4 separate regions of the Homo sapiens genome follow, and regions 2, 3 and 4 are each linked to region 1. Evidence: promoter capture Hi-C in 16 types of primary human blood cells and fetal thymus (Javierre and others, 2016). All regions are on one chromosome and are shown on one strand. The core of a region is centred on a gene start or on the middle of the fragment in contact, and the rest is flanking DNA. Distances in the headings are between cores, read along the strand shown.

What was found. The method cuts DNA at HindIII sites, captures the fragments that hold promoters and counts their contacts. A CHiCAGO score of 5 or more calls a contact.
Region 2: a contact is called between a fragment that was not itself captured here and the fragment with the promoter of AKAP12 in region 1, in 1 of 17 cell types (endothelial precursors). The highest score is 6.2, in endothelial precursors.
Region 3: a fragment that was not itself captured here is called in contact with the fragment with the promoter of AKAP12 in region 1 in 2 of 17 cell types (endothelial precursors and megakaryocytes); the score reaches 14.0 in endothelial precursors.
Region 4: a contact is called between a fragment that was not itself captured here and the fragment with the promoter of AKAP12 in region 1, in 1 of 17 cell types (endothelial precursors). The highest score is 7.0, in endothelial precursors.

The regions. Positions count from the first base shown.
Region 1 is chr6:151,237,845-151,241,511 of GRCh38, reverse strand. AKAP12 (A-kinase anchoring protein 12) reads right to left here and starts at 1,545. Exons shown (of 5, transcript NM_005100.4): 1 at 1,453-1,545; 2 at 788-1,128. The coding sequence starts at 949. RefSeq lists enhancers at 578-1,155, 1,233-1,742. The HindIII fragment of the contact is 4,204 bases long and covers 1-3,667 here.
Region 2 is chr6:150,998,532-151,002,198 of GRCh38, reverse strand. All of the region lies in intron 20 of MTHFD1L (methylenetetrahydrofolate dehydrogenase (NADP+ dependent) 1 like), which reads right to left. Among named protein-coding and RNA genes, the nearest start is that of MIR12131, 100 kb to the left of the region's middle. The HindIII fragment of the contact is 1,064 bases long and covers 1,288-2,351 here.
Region 3 is chr6:151,015,082-151,018,748 of GRCh38, reverse strand. It overlaps MTHFD1L (methylenetetrahydrofolate dehydrogenase (NADP+ dependent) 1 like), which reads right to left. Exons shown (of 28, transcript NM_015440.5): 24 at 3,056-3,233. Among named protein-coding and RNA genes, the nearest start is that of MIR12131, 86 kb to the left of the region's middle. The HindIII fragment of the contact is 4,585 bases long and covers 1-3,667 here.
Region 4 is chr6:151,059,111-151,062,777 of GRCh38, reverse strand. All of the region lies in intron 26 of MTHFD1L (methylenetetrahydrofolate dehydrogenase (NADP+ dependent) 1 like), which reads right to left. Among named protein-coding and RNA genes, the nearest start is that of MIR12131, 42 kb to the left of the region's middle. RefSeq lists a cis regulatory region at 1,180 and enhancers at 1,096-1,265, 1,513-2,712. The HindIII fragment of the contact is 468 bases long and covers 1,518-1,985 here.

The DNA of each region.
Region 1 (3,667 bases), core at 296-2,795:
GGAAGAGTACCCGGAATGCTCGTTACACTGACCCCATCCTTTGAGAACTTCTAGCCACTCTAGCGTGTGTTTGGCCAACTGAGTCTGCAGGCAAAGCGCTGAGCGAACGCGAGGGCGCTGGCTGGTTTGCGAAACCTGTCATTCCTTCTGGAAACGCAGCGCCTGCCCAGGTTTTTCCTGGCTCTGAGCGAGCTACACCCCAGGCTTTCTCTGCCTCGGGAAGGCGGTGCCTGCTCGGGCCGCTGCCGCAGGAGGACTGGGTACCAAACCCGCTCGCTCCAGGCACCGCTGGCATCCAGGGCGGTACGCGACGGGGAACCCGAGGGTGGCTGGGCTCCCCGGCGGGCTCCACCACGAGTCCTGGCCTCACAGCTGACTTTCCGCATCTCGGAGCTCCGGAGGCCCGGCCCGGGGTCCATTCTCCACGGATCCCCCTCCGCGCAGCTCCTCCGCCTCGGGCTGCATGGCTCCCACCGGAAGAGTGCGCAGAAAGGCTCAGCCGCCGTGGGCAGGGCGCGGGTTTTATTATTGCGCATGGCGCAGTCGCCTCCCCTGGAGACCCGCGACAAAGATGCAAGCCCCCCGCCGCGCTCGCCGCTGCTCTGGCCCCGCCCCGGCGCGAAAGACCCTGAAAAGCCTCCAAAGAGGGGTTCGCACTCCTGAGTTTGCAGATGCGGCTGGATGGGCTGGGAAGTTCTCTCGGCGGAAATCGGAGGGACCCCCCCACCCCCACCCCCACCCCCAAAGACCCGCGCCTCCCGGCGCAGGTGGCCCGGCACGCCCGTACCTTGGTGGCGGGGTCCGAGGCAGCGATGGCGGGGTCCGCGGTGGTGTCTGGCGCCGCCTCGGCCGAGGGGCCGCCGCCGCTGGGCTCGGGCTCAGCCGGCGTGGAGCTCCCCTCGGGCGGCTGCTCCGGGCTGCGCTGCTCGGTGGAGCTCCCGGCGCCCATGGCTCCTCCGCACTTCTCCCGCGCCTAGCCGCCGGGTTACGCCTTCCCCAAGCCGCAGGGACAGGGGCAAGAGCCAAAAGACGCGCGCCCGCGAGGTCCCGAGAGCGCCTTCCTTCGCCGCCAGCCGACTGCGAACGCGCCCAGCCTGCGAATGAAGGAGACGCGCTCGCGGCAAACTCCTTAAAAGAAAAGGAAAAAAAAAAAAAGGCCACCTCTTAGCCTCCGCCCCCCTCCCCCCGGTTTTTCCCTCGCTTCATCACATGAGCACAGCCCCAGACACGCCCTGCAGCAGCATCTGCCCCCAGGCTGCCGGGACCAGAGGCGCTGCGACGCGCCAGCCCAGGTCCAGGCAGCCGCCCACCCGGCCCTCGGGCGCCTCCCGTTTCTAACAGGGCGACTAGAGCTGCGGGGACGACCCAGGGCCTCAGAAGGCAAGAGAGCAGGGGAGCAAAAAGCCTGCCGGGGACACTGGATTCTCTGGGGTTTATTAAATGATGGATCACCCAAGGCAGGAGCTTCTGCTGCAGCCGACTTTCAGCTCGCCCAGGAGCGAGTCCGAGTCCCCATTTGCTTTCCTGCAGATTGTGTTTAACTCCAAACATTTGTTCCAGCCTCCTCCCCATTAGCAGGAGAAAGGCAAGCGCTCCCTGGCTCCTCCTGAGTCCGACCATATTTGGGCACCTCACGTGGCAAGAGCAGGGAACCGAGAGGTTAACGCAGTCAGGCCACGGATGAGGTGGGCCACGCAGGCCCACGCTCTCCTATCCTCCGGAACAAGTGATGTCAGGCGATGCCATCAGCAGTGCTAGCCGCCCCCCTTCCCCCGGGGAACGGGGGGAAATGAGGCTGTTACCGGAAATGTGCCCGTCCTTCTTTGAGGGCCTGTGCTGGAAGTTACCCATCCAGGCCACCTCTGCTCCGCGCGATGCCGACACATGACAGCATAGATCTGTTCCTTTGCCGTCAGCCTTTCTCAAAAGATGAAGACTTTAAATAATACCAGCACAAGTGGCTTGCATCCTTTCATTTCCGACCCTTGAATATAATATGTATTACATGAGCATGGCAGCCAATCAATAAGTATTTGAACTAAATTAAATTTGTAGCTGGATTGCTTGGCGCAAAGCATTAAGGCTTTGGGGCTGAAAGACAAAATTTATTCCAGTTGTAACTAGCAACCGAGTGCCCCAGTTTTCACAAATACTTTGAATCTCCATTAAGAATGAAGAAACCAGCCTGGTTAACATAGCGAGACCTTGTCTCTACAAAAAATAAAAAAATTAGCCAGGCGCAGTGGTGCACCTGTAGTCCTAGCTACTCAGGAGGCTGGGGACGCTGGGGTAGAAGGATGACTTCAGCCCAGGAATTCGAGGCTGCAGTGAGCTATGACTGTGCCTCTGCACTCCATCCTAGTCGACAGAGCAAGATTCTGTCAAAAAAAAAAAAGAAAGAAAGAAGGAAGAAACTTTCGGAATATTCACACCAAATTCCAGATAAATATCTCATACTCAGATTTAGTACAATTTTGTAGAAAGGGTGTAAGCAGTAGTTCAGCACTAGGATGTTTCATGCCTAATGAATTGCATGAATCGAATGGTACCCTGGGAACCATAGGTTAGTTACTCACCATCAAATTTGTTTTCTGAATTAATTTTTTTTCTTTTTCTTTTTTTGAGACAAGGTCTCGCTGTGTTGCCCAGGCTAGTGTTGAACTCCTGAGCTCAAGCGATCCTCCTGCCTTGGCCTCTCAAAGTGCTGGGATTATAGGTGTGAACCACCACACTGGGCCTGTTTTCTGAATTAATTATTTTTATTTAAAGGACTACACGAAGGCCAATTTCTCTGGAGTTTATCTCTTAAGAAACAGTATATTTGCAAAATGCTTAGTTTTAGGAATTTATACACATTTCCCCCATTTTGACTTAAATTTTGACTATTTAGGAAACATTAGAATTCTTACTCTGTACCAGGCACTGTTCAATGCACTTTACATAATAATCTTTACAATAACCCCATGGGATAGATAGTATTATTCTCATTTTACCATTGGCAGGAGGGGGAGGAGTAGGCCCGGAGAAATTAAATTGTGTGCTTCAGGTTTCACAGCCAGGAGTTGGAAGAGCAGGAAGTCCAACTGGCATCTGCTTTCAGGGTCCACGCTTCACCACCGCATGGCACTCCCCTTCCCTTTCAATCAACTGTGTTCTCTCCTCTCAGAGGTGTTACTGAAACGTGGCATTTGGACCTCACTTAGGATTTTAAGAGCAAAAAGCACTGTTAAAACCTACTTGAGGCCAGGTGTGGTGGCTTACACCTGTAATCCCAGCACTTTGGGAGGCCGAGGTGGGTGGATCACCTGAGGACAGTAGTTCAAGACCAGCCTGGGCAACATGGTGAAACCCCGTCTCTACTAAAAGTACAAAAATTAGCCAGGCATGGTGGCGCGTGTCTGTAATCCCAGCTACTCAGGAGGCCAAGACACGAGAACTGCTTGAACCTGGGAGGTGGAGGTTGCAGTGAGCTGAGATCATGCCATTGCACGCCAGCCTGGATGACAGATTAAGACTCCGTCCCAAAAAAAAAAAAAGAAGAAGAAAAAAAAAACTATTTGAGAATGATTAACGTCAGCACATTTGAAAATGTATCAGTAAGTAGCACAAATACTATCAACATTTTCACATTCTGTGAGATTATATTTACTTTGTTCCTGGGAAATTC
Region 2 (3,667 bases), core at 570-3,069, 240 kb after region 1:
TACTCCTCATCAAACAATCAACTGATCACATAGCATTTCCCTAGCTGAGCTGCTTGGTCAGTTTTGCTTTCAGTGAAAATCTTAACACTTGGTACTTCAATAATACTCCAGCATTTAACAAGTAGCTCTAAATTATTTTCCTGAACTGAGAGGTAAGTGTGTCCAGGCTTTTGTTCTAACTGCAATAAGGCCCTGCTGTGATTACCAAAGTATGCAATCTAGAATGTTCTTTATGATCCTCCTTCCTTTCCACCCACCCTCCCTTCCTTTACTTAAGTCAGAGTGCTTGTTGTCTCTTTTAGAGCAATTCATTTAGAGATTATAAATCACCTCCTCTGCTAGTTCTTGGTCCATGTGTCAACAGTGATGAGTTCTGGGGCAGCAGCAGGGAGTATTCTGTTTGACAAAGAAACACTTCAGAGAGAGGATGCTCCAGGGACCACTTCCACCTGGACTTGGTACCCAACCCCAGGCAGGAACAGGCCACACAGGTAGAGAACACTGGCGCTGCAATCCGGCCTCCTGAGGTCCAGGTATTTTACCCACTCCCAGCCGAGTGATCAGATCCCAAGACTTGCCTTCCTAACCTCCCCCAGCCAGGCACCAGCTCTCCCTTCGCTGGATGGGAAATGAGTGACCCCAATGCTCTAGCCTGGGTTTTCTTTTCAAATTTTACTTTCTGTTGTCAGCACATGTGCATGGAGGGAAAAGAAAAGGCAAGAACCGCTTTAGATCTGAAATTCTCATTTCTGCTTTTACACTGGGGAAAACCCTCCTTGGACTTTGAAAAATAGTTAAACTGAAGTGCTGAGATAGTTTTTCCGTAAAGTTTTCTTAATTTCTACTTGAAATACCTGGATGTTGCCACCAGAATTGCAAATTAAACTTCTGCCTTGCTATGGCACTAAGAGGTCCTTTATTCCATGGGTACTCAGAAGATAAAGAAATTAGAACTGTCGGATTTCATGGCTACTTCACAATGGTAGCAACTTTTCTCTCCATGTGTGCAACAAACATATATCAAATATACAACATATTGAGTTCACCATTACGTCTGGACACGAACTTGAATTTATGGACTGCCAGAGGTTTCACAGAAGAACTAGTCCTTGCAACTAGCTCAGCTCAAAATAGGTTAAGAAATATGAGCGCACGGGGCGTATCTGGCTAACTTAATCATCAAAAGAATTTCTTGTAAATAAGAAAGAAAAATAAAACTGTAGCTTTCATTCAAGTAAAGGCTACACTTTGCTTCCTCACAACAAATCAAAAACAAAAATAGAAGCTTTGTAGAGGAACAAGCAAGGTGTATGCTGGACAGTACCTCATTCTGAAGCGCTGTTGGTGTTAACTGCCAAACAGTGCTAAAAGAAATAGAAAGTAGAATCTTCAGGCTGCCTTTTTCTGCCCTATATAAACATGTTTATTCAATGGCAGCTGTCTGCAGATAAACTCAAAAAAAGTCACAGCAACACATGAATTCTGAACTTGAATTAAAGGGGAGAAAGTGAGGATTGTAATGACTTTTTCAGTGACTACCAGGAGACAACACCAGGATAAATCATTCAATTAACTATAAGAGAAATTCGGCATTATTACTGCAGCTTAAAAATAGAACTTTGTTTAGAATATATTAATTTTGAGGATCCAACTCATCTTAAGTCAATGAAATTTCACTAACCACTAAATCCTTTCTGCTCTTTAGGATTTGTCTATTCAACATATAACCCTGTTTAGTTTTATTAAATATCTTGGAGTCGAATTTCCAGGAAGTATATAGAACTAACTAGACACATATCAGGAGACCTAAAGGAAAAAGAAACTGGCACAAACCTCAATTTTTTTCTTTTTTTTTTTTTTTTTGAGACAGAGTCTCTCCCTGTTGCCAGGCTGGAGTGCAGTGGCACGATCTCGGCTCACTGCAACCTCCACCTCCCTGGTTCAAGCAATTCTCCTGCCTCAGCCTCCCGAGTAGCTGGGACTACAGTTGTGCACCATCACACTCAGCTAATTTTTGTATTTTTAGTAGAGACGGGGTTTCACCATGTGGCCAGGATGGTCTCAATGTCTTGACCTCGTGATCCACCTGCCTCGGCTTCCCAAAATTCTGGGATTACAGGCATGAGCCACCACACCCAGCCCAAACCTCAATATTAATATTAGCACATGCCCTTCTTCCTTTCCACCTCTTTGGTGATGACCAAGTTCATACACATTAGGGGAAGATTGGAGGTGGTGCACAGAACATGAGGAAGTTACTGGGGACGTATTTGGGAAAAGCGATAGAGAAAGTAAGCAGTGTAAAGAGGAGACAGGTACACGTGAACATATTTTTGGTTGTAGTAAAAGCTTTGAAAATACCAATACCACTTAGACGTGCTTTTGTGTCAGAACTCAGAATTTCCTTCCTCCAGAGCATTAATTAGTTACAGACACCGGTTTACATTATTTAGAACCATCATGAGTCATCTTGTTTTGTAAGATGATTTTGACCAAAGTGAAATTTAATTTCCAAAAAGAAATGTTTCGATGAATATTATAAATTATACACATTTAAAATTATATGATTATACATGTAATAAATTATATAGGCTTATTTTTAGCTCCTTTATAAAAATCCATCAGAATTAAATTCATAAATCCATTATCCAAATAGTTCCCATGTTCTTGTAGGGAACAAGAACAGTTTGTACAGTGCCATGACTATGACCAGAGCTTTAAGCCTTCTGCTCTTGGCCAACAGTGGTGTTCCCCAATCCTGGTTAGAGGCCTGGGATTTTGGATGATTGCATGAGGGAAGAGCTCTATTCTTGCAACTCCTGAGAACTGGACACCAGGAAGTTAACTCAAAACAAATGAATTCTGACAGGCTTGGCCATTAACATGATTTAGCCCAAAATAATGGAAAGATGACACAGAACACTTTTTACTGAGCAGTTATGAAAACAAACCCAAAAGGGAAAGAAGTACAGAATTATGCAAAATGGTTGCAAAATGCAACATGGAAAATGCAATTATGCAAAAATGGTTGGCACCAGACTGAAGTGATTTTTGGCTTTTAAATTTTTTCAGATTTTGTAATATTTGCATATACATAACGAGATATCTTGGGGTTGGGACCCCTGTCTAAACATGAAATTCATTTATATTTCATATACTCCTTATAGACATAGCCTAAACTATATATATATATGTATATATATTTTTTTAAGACAGGGTCTCCCTCTGTTTGCCCAGGCTGGAGTGCAGTGACATGATCTTGGCTCACTGCAACCTCTGCCACCCAGTTCAAGTGATTCTCCCACCTCAGCCTCCCAAATAGCTGGGACTACAGGTGTGTGCCACCGTGCCCAGCTAATGTTTTTTTTTTTTTTTTGTATTTTTAGAGGAGACAGGGTTTCATCACCTTGCCTAGGCTGGTCTCGAACTCCTGAGCTCAAGTGATCTGCCTGCCCTGGCCTCCCAAAATGCTGGGATTACAGGTGTGAGCCACTGTGCCTGGCCCTGGACAATAGTTTTAATAATTTTGTGCATATATGAAAGATTTAACTGCATGCTGACTGCAACCCGCCACACGAGATCAGGTGTGGAATTTTCCACTGGTGGCATCATGTTGTCACTCAAAAAACTTTGGATTTTTGAGCACTTCTTTGGATTTTGGATTTTT
Region 3 (3,667 bases), core at 813-3,312, 220 kb after region 1:
CCATCACTGTCACCCTTTCTCTTCAGGGGGGTCACTCAGTCACTGTCCCCTTTAACTATGTCTCCCCCCAGACCTCCAATACACACACACTTTTGAGCACAGTACTTAGCTCTGAAGAACAGAGCAGGGTGATGACCTCAACCATCTGGATATTCTTTCTCCCAGCTCTGCCTCTTCCTAGCTATGGGACACTGAGCAGTTGACTTAGTCTCTTCGTGCTTTAGTTTTCTTGTCTGTAAAATGGGAAGATATCACCAGTTTCCACCTAAGAGGGATGTTAGGACCAAAGAGGTGAACATGTGCAAAGCGCCCATATACCCAGCTCACAAACAACTCCTTAAAAGCGAGAGCTGTGGTAATATTAAATATTAATACATCAGCCCCGTTCTCTCACCACTGTGACTCCAGGCTTATCAACAACGCTGCTAAGCTCTTGCTTCACGGATTTCTTCTTCACTTATGCTATTGATTTATGCCACTGAACAGGAAAGAAGAGTGTCTGTGACATCTGAGTGACTCAACAATAGAATATGTGAGGGATGAAGGAACAGGAGAAGCAGCAATCAGCTTGAAGCCTGGGCACTCCACAATCATGCACTACCCCTGAAGACAAATCCATCAGCCAGAATCGGAACCACAAAATTCAGAATGGAGATGTCAGACGGGTGCAAAGACAGACGATCTGAGGAGGAGAGTGAGCCCTGGGAAGCTCAGGTCTTCTGACTGAACCATCGACATGTGCTTAAAAATATCCTAGAGGACCCAGCAATCCCACTTCTGGGAATACATTTCCAAAAGAATTGAAAACATGGCATGAACCCGGGAGGCGGAGCTTGCAGTGAGCCGAGATTGCGCCACTGCACTCCAGCCTGGGCGACAGAGCAAGACTCCGTCTCAAAAAAAAAAAAAAAAAAAAAAGAAAACACGGTCTTGAAGGGATACTTGTACATATGCCATATGCCATAAACACGCATGCTCATACAGCATTACTTACAATAGCTGTGAGGGGGAGCTCAAGTGTCCATCCACAGATGGACAAAGAAACAAAATGTGGGATATCCAAAGAATGGGAGCGTATTCAGCCCGAAAAATAAAGGAAATTCTGGCCGGGCGCGGTGGCTCACACCTGTAATCCCAGCACTTTGGGAAGCCGAGGTGGGTGGATCACAAGGTCAGGAGTTTGAGACCAGCCTGACGAACATGGTGAAACCCTGTCTCTGCTAAAAATACAAAAATTAGCTGGGCGTGGTGGTGCACGCCTGTAATCCCAGCTACTCGGGAGCCTGAGGCAGGAGAATTGCTTGAACCCGAGAGCAGAAGGTTGCGGTGAGCTGAGATGGTGCCTCTGCACTCCAGCCCGGGCAACAAAAGCGAAACTCCATCTCAAAAAAAAAAAAGAAGGGAAATTCTGACACTCTACAACATGCACGCACATTATGCTAAGTGAAATAAGCCAGCCACAGTATGATGCTACTTACATGAGGTCCCTGGAGTTGTTACATTCATGGAAATGAAGGAGAATGGTAGCTGGCAGGGACTGTAGGGAGGGGCATGGGGAGTTGTTCAGTGGGTACAGTTTCAGTTTTGCAAGATGAAAAGCGTTCTGGAGATTGGCTGCATGACAATGTGAATGTACTTAACACTACTGACGTGCACTTAAAAATGGTTAAGATGGGCCAGGTGTGGTGGCTCACGCCTGCAACCCTAGCACTCTGGGAGGCCGAGGCGGGTGGACTGCCGGAGCTCAGGAGTTCGAGACCAGCCCGGGCAACACGGTGAAACCCCGACTCTACTAAAATAAAAAAGAAATTAGCCAGGCACGCTTGCTTGCGCCTGTAGTCCCAGCTACTTGGGAGGCTGAGGCAGAAGAATTGCTTGAACCCGGGAGGTGGAGGTTGCAGTGAGCCGAGATCACGCCATTGCACTCCAGCCTGGGCAACAGAGCAAGGCTCTGTCTCAAAAAAAAAAAAAAAAAAAAAAGGCTAAGATAGTAAATTTTGTTATATATATATTTACCACAATGAAAATAAATAAATATATTATGTATGTATATATACACACACATACACTAGACATAGTTCAATAAAACCACAAGAGAAAAGAACCATAACAGAAATGAACAAGCAGAGGCCAGGTGTGGTGGCTCATGCCTATAATCCCAGCACTTTGGGAGGCCGAGGTGGGTGAACCATGAGATCAGGAGTTTGAGACCAGCCTGCCCAAGATGGTGAAACCCCGTCTCTACTAAAAATACAAAAACTTAGCCAGACGTGTTGGCAGGTGCCTGTAATCCCAGCTAGTCAGGAGGCTGAGGCAGAGAAGTGCTTGAACCTGGGAGGCAGAGGTTGCAGTAAGCCGAGATTGCACCACTGTACTCCAGCCTGAGCAACAGAGACTGTCTCAAAAAAAAAAAAGAGAAATGAACAAGGAAAATACCTCCCATGGTTTCCCAATCCTCACGAAATTGCTCTTGTTCCTGTGCAACTCCTGAAAGCGTCAGCTGTCAAATCCTGTTCGCTAAAGTACCTCCTCACTTAGGACTGCGATTTGGGAGTCTTCAAAAGCACAGGCTTTGGGACAAGGAGCTAGGGTCTGTACTTGGAAATGTGACTTTGTCATATGGCTTAAACTCTTCTACCTTTTTGTTTGTTTGTTTGAGACAGGGTCTCACTCTGTCGCCCAGGCTGGAGTGCAGTGGTGTGATCTCGATCTTGGCTCACTGCAGCCTCCACCTCCTGGGTTCAAGCAATTCTCCCACCTCAGCCTCCCGAGTAGCTGGGACTATAGGTGCACGCCACCATGCCCACCTAATTTTTGTATTTTTAGTAGAGATGGGGTTTCTCTATGTTGGCCAGGCTGGTCTCGAACTCCTGACCTCAAGTGATCTGCCCGCCCTAGCCTCCCAAAGTGTTGGGATTACAGGCGTGAGCCACTGCACCGGGCCTAAACTCTTCTATCTTTAGTTTTCTTATCTGTAGGGTTGTGGTGACAACAGAATGGGACAACCCATGCTAAGGTGTAAGAAATGTGAGCCATTGTTTTTACTAGATCTTACCTGAACATCATACAGGAACTGGAATCGGCTTCTTTTACTCGCAGCCTCTCTCACAGCCCGAGCCAAGTCCACCGATCCTTTTCCACCAACGGACCAGTGATAGCAGGGGACTGCATCAAAGGCACCAGCCCGCTTTGCAAGCTCACACACCAAGTCAATCTCAGCGCGGGTGTCGGTCCTAGTGAAGAAAATGTTTGTGGTTTTGCATCTGTATCCATTTAGCTATGTTTTCAAAGAAAGACTCACCATTTATACAGAACTTCGCTCCCTAACACTGAATACATTTTAAACATCAAAAGTGGTCACATCGTGTTTAAATAAATCAGACTTAAAGCATGGAAAAAAAAAGTCCTCTCTAAAGTGACTCAAATATTTCAAGTCGTTAAGGGTGTTATCAAGAAAATTCCATAACATATCCCTTTGATCATTCACAGTTTGTTTCAGACAAAAATGCTGGGTAGAATTAAAAAAAAAAAAAAAAAAAAAAGCCAAGGAGATAGTAACTCACTATATATAAATTTCACTTCCTTAATAACATTGTGAGAACACATTTGCTAAAATGAAACCAAACCAAATAAACAAACAGAAAGAACTGGGTATTTCTGTATACTT
Region 4 (3,667 bases), core at 502-3,001, 180 kb after region 1:
CAAAACTGGAGAAATGTGTAGCAGCAACTTCATTTTACAGTTTGCAGGTTTCACTTTATCTTTTACCAGAGCTTCAAGCAAATAATAAACTTGTTTTGAGTTTGATTTATTTTCATTTCCCATATCCAAAGGGTTACTCTGCCTACTCCTGCCCCCAACACAGTCCTAATATATAAGATGTGTTCTTCATCTATCTCTTTCTTGGCTCTAGAATATAAGTAACTTGAGGGCAAAGACTTTGTCCCATTTATCTTTTTATTCCTAGTGGCAAACAGAGTGCCTGTTAACATAAAAATCTGTTAAACAGACACAAGAGCAAAGAGGAGCAAAAGGTCTTTTTTTTTGAGATGGAGTCTCTGTTCTCCAGGCTGGAGTGCAGTGGCGCGATCTTGGCTCACTGCAAGCTCTGCCCCCCGGATTCACGCCATTCTCCTACCTCAGCCTCCCGAGTAGCTGGGACTACAGGTGCACGCCACCAAGCCTGGCTAATTTTTTTTGTATTTTTAGTAGAGACGGGGTTTCATCGTATTAGCTAGAATGGTCTCGATCTCCTGACCTCGTGATCCGCTCGCCTCGGCCTTCCAAAGTGCTGGGATTACAGGCGTGAGCCACCGCACCCGGCCTTGGAGAGAAAGGTCTTAATGATTCACTGTTCTTTGTAAATCAAGGTGGACTGAACATGAACAGTTGACTTAGAGGCTGCTTAGAAATTCCTTCCAGGTAGAGGCCTTGATGTGATCAGCTCTCCTTTTGAGGGTCTGAGGACCAGGATCTTTGGGAAATAAGTTGTATTAACCAAACTTACAAGGGCCTGATTTATAACCTAAATGCCATTTTGTTCTTTTATGAACAATGCCTGACTTTGTCATTTTGTGAGGCAGTCTGGTATGATGGAAGGAGTAACAGACTTGAAATAGAAAAATGTGCAACCAAGCCACATCGCTGGGGACTCAGTTTTCTCATTTTTATAATGTGAAGAACTAGATGGTCTCTATGGTGGTTTAAAGGAATACAGGGTTAGACTTTCTCTCTAGAAGACCTGGTTTTAATGACCCTTTGAGGGGCTAATGACTCCAGAAACTTTCATTGATAGCACAGATGTCTCCAGTGAACCTCAGACTCAATACGGAACTGTGCAGTGGACATCTTCACTGTAAATTACAACAAATGCTTCAGATCCAACATGTTAGTAACCAAATCCACTACTGTGTAGGAAAGAAATAATGTAGCAGGCCTGAGTCTGAGAACTTGGATTGTGGGAGGGTTTCAACTATCCTCTAACTGACAAGAGGGGCTCACTGTGCCTAAATTTCACAAACAAAATGGTCTATGCTGAACATTTGCTTTTGTTCTGAGAGACTGAAATTTGGTACGTGACCATTACCCAATAAAAACCTTGGGGACTGAGTCTCTAATGAGCCTCTTCTGCAGACAATATTTCAGGTGTCGTCATAGTTCAATGCTGGAGGAACTAAGTGTATCTTGTGTGACTCTATGGGGAGAGTACTCTGGAAGCTTGCGCCTGAGCTCCCCTGGACTTGACCCCACGTGCTGTTTCCTTTTGCTAATTTTGCTTTGTATCCTTGTGCTGTAATAAATCATGGTCTTAGGGGCTCCCAACACAACTATCTTCCGCCTAAAATTGTTTCTAGGTTCTTTATTGCTTATCTAAACAAATGACAACCCCAGTCATTAAGCGAACAAGTCAGAAATCTGAGAGCCATTTCTGCATTCCCTCTTCCCCGCTCCTGTTCATTGAGTTTAGTTCATTCTAGTTCGGTAATTGCTCTCATTCCCATCCCCTGCCTACACCTCAGGTTAGGCCCTGGGTATTTCTTGCCTACTACTTTCTAAATAGGTCTTCATGACTAATTTCTCCGTTTTCCACTCCACCTTCCAGACTGCTGCCTGAGTGATCTCTCTGAAACATGAATGTAATTATGATATTGCTGTACTTAAAATCCCCAGGTCCTGACTCCTAAGCTTGACGCTCAAGGCCTCACAAGACCTGGGTCTTGCTTTCCTGCCCAGTGTCACAGCTCATTCCAAATCTCCTGTTTCCTCCCCATGCAGTGGCCATGGTAAAGGCTTACAGCAATGTTCTCTCCTGCCTTCATGCTGCGGACTTGCTGCCTCCTTGTCCCTCGACCCCTGGTGAGTCTGTTCTCGTCCTTCATGATCCGGCTTAGGTAACCCCATTCCTGGCCTGACTTCCCTATCCCTGCCAGCCCCCCATGGCATCTGCTCCCTGGCTCCTGGAGCAGGGGGCTCCCTCTGTCCCAGACGTCAGCTCTTTCAGCTGTCTCTATATTTAACTTGTGTGCCTCTCTAGCCTGTGAACTCTGCAAGTGCAAGGTCCAGGCCTATGTTGTTGTTGTTTGTTCTTCTAATGGCCTAGTACCCAGCACTCCTCAATAAATATTAAATGAGTGAATCAGAAATGAGGCATTTGCGTGGTTGCACAGTGATGCATCCATTAAGCTAGAATGGCCTAATGAATCATCTCCGTTCATCTGAGGATTGTGTACCAAAAGGGAGAAGGTTAGTCACTTACAAGGAGAGAACTCTAGCACCTGGACTCTCCTGGTAAGAACAATAAAATCTCATTCTTCAGGGCTCCCTTTTCTGAATTCCACATGGTCCTATACCTTCTGGCGTCCCTATTCCAGCCCAAGGCAATGCAATTATTTACTATGTAAACGTTAACTGAGTTGTTTATGGCAGGGTTGCTTCCCACAAATGCAGTGCTGTTCATCTTAGAGATGTCCTCTTGCTGACCTTGGCCTGCACTGCCCTTCCCTTAAATCCCAATATCCTTGCTCAAGTCTCTCTTGTACCCGCCCTACATTAGAGGAAGGGCTTGAGTCTGGAACCAGGCAAAGCCAAAACCCACTGAAAGCATCAACTCGCTCGTAAATAAAGCGGGCGACTCCCTAGTGCATGGTGTAAGACACCGAGTTAGAGCCTTCCCTTACCATCCCGTAACTGAGCAGCACAGACCCACCGTGCAGAGAGCACAGCCACCCTCCAGACTGTGGGTAGGAAATGCAGCATCATTTCCACTTTCGAAACTGCTCTGGGAAACGCCAGTCTCCGGGCAGCTTGATTAGCAAGAATACTTCATATCACAAAGAGTGTTAGGAACAAAACTTATTTAACAAAATGGTAAGAGCAGAGCCTCAATACTGTGGGAAGGACCTGATGGCTTTTAGAGCATTTTACTCCTTTGGTAGTTCTCATTTCTCACCAAAAAAGAACATTTTCAAATTTTATATTCTGATTTTATAAAAACAACAATCATGGCCAGGTGCGGTGGCTCGTATCTGTAATCCCAGCACTTTGGGAGGCTGAGGTGAGCGGATCACCTGAGGTCAGGAGTTCGAGAGCAGCCTGGCCAACATGGCAAAACCCCAACTCTACTAATACAAAAATTAGCTGTGCGTGGTGGCGCAGGCAGGAAAATCGCTTGAACCCAGGAGGCGAAGGTTGCAGTGAGCCGAGATCATGCCACTGCATCCCAGCCTGGGGAAAAGAGTGAGACTGCATCTAAAACAACCACCACAACCACCACCACCACCACCACCACCACCAGTTTAGAACTGTAGCAGCCTGGAGCTAAAAGGCCCTGGAGAACATCATCCCACCTCAGGGGGAAGGGAGCCACTCT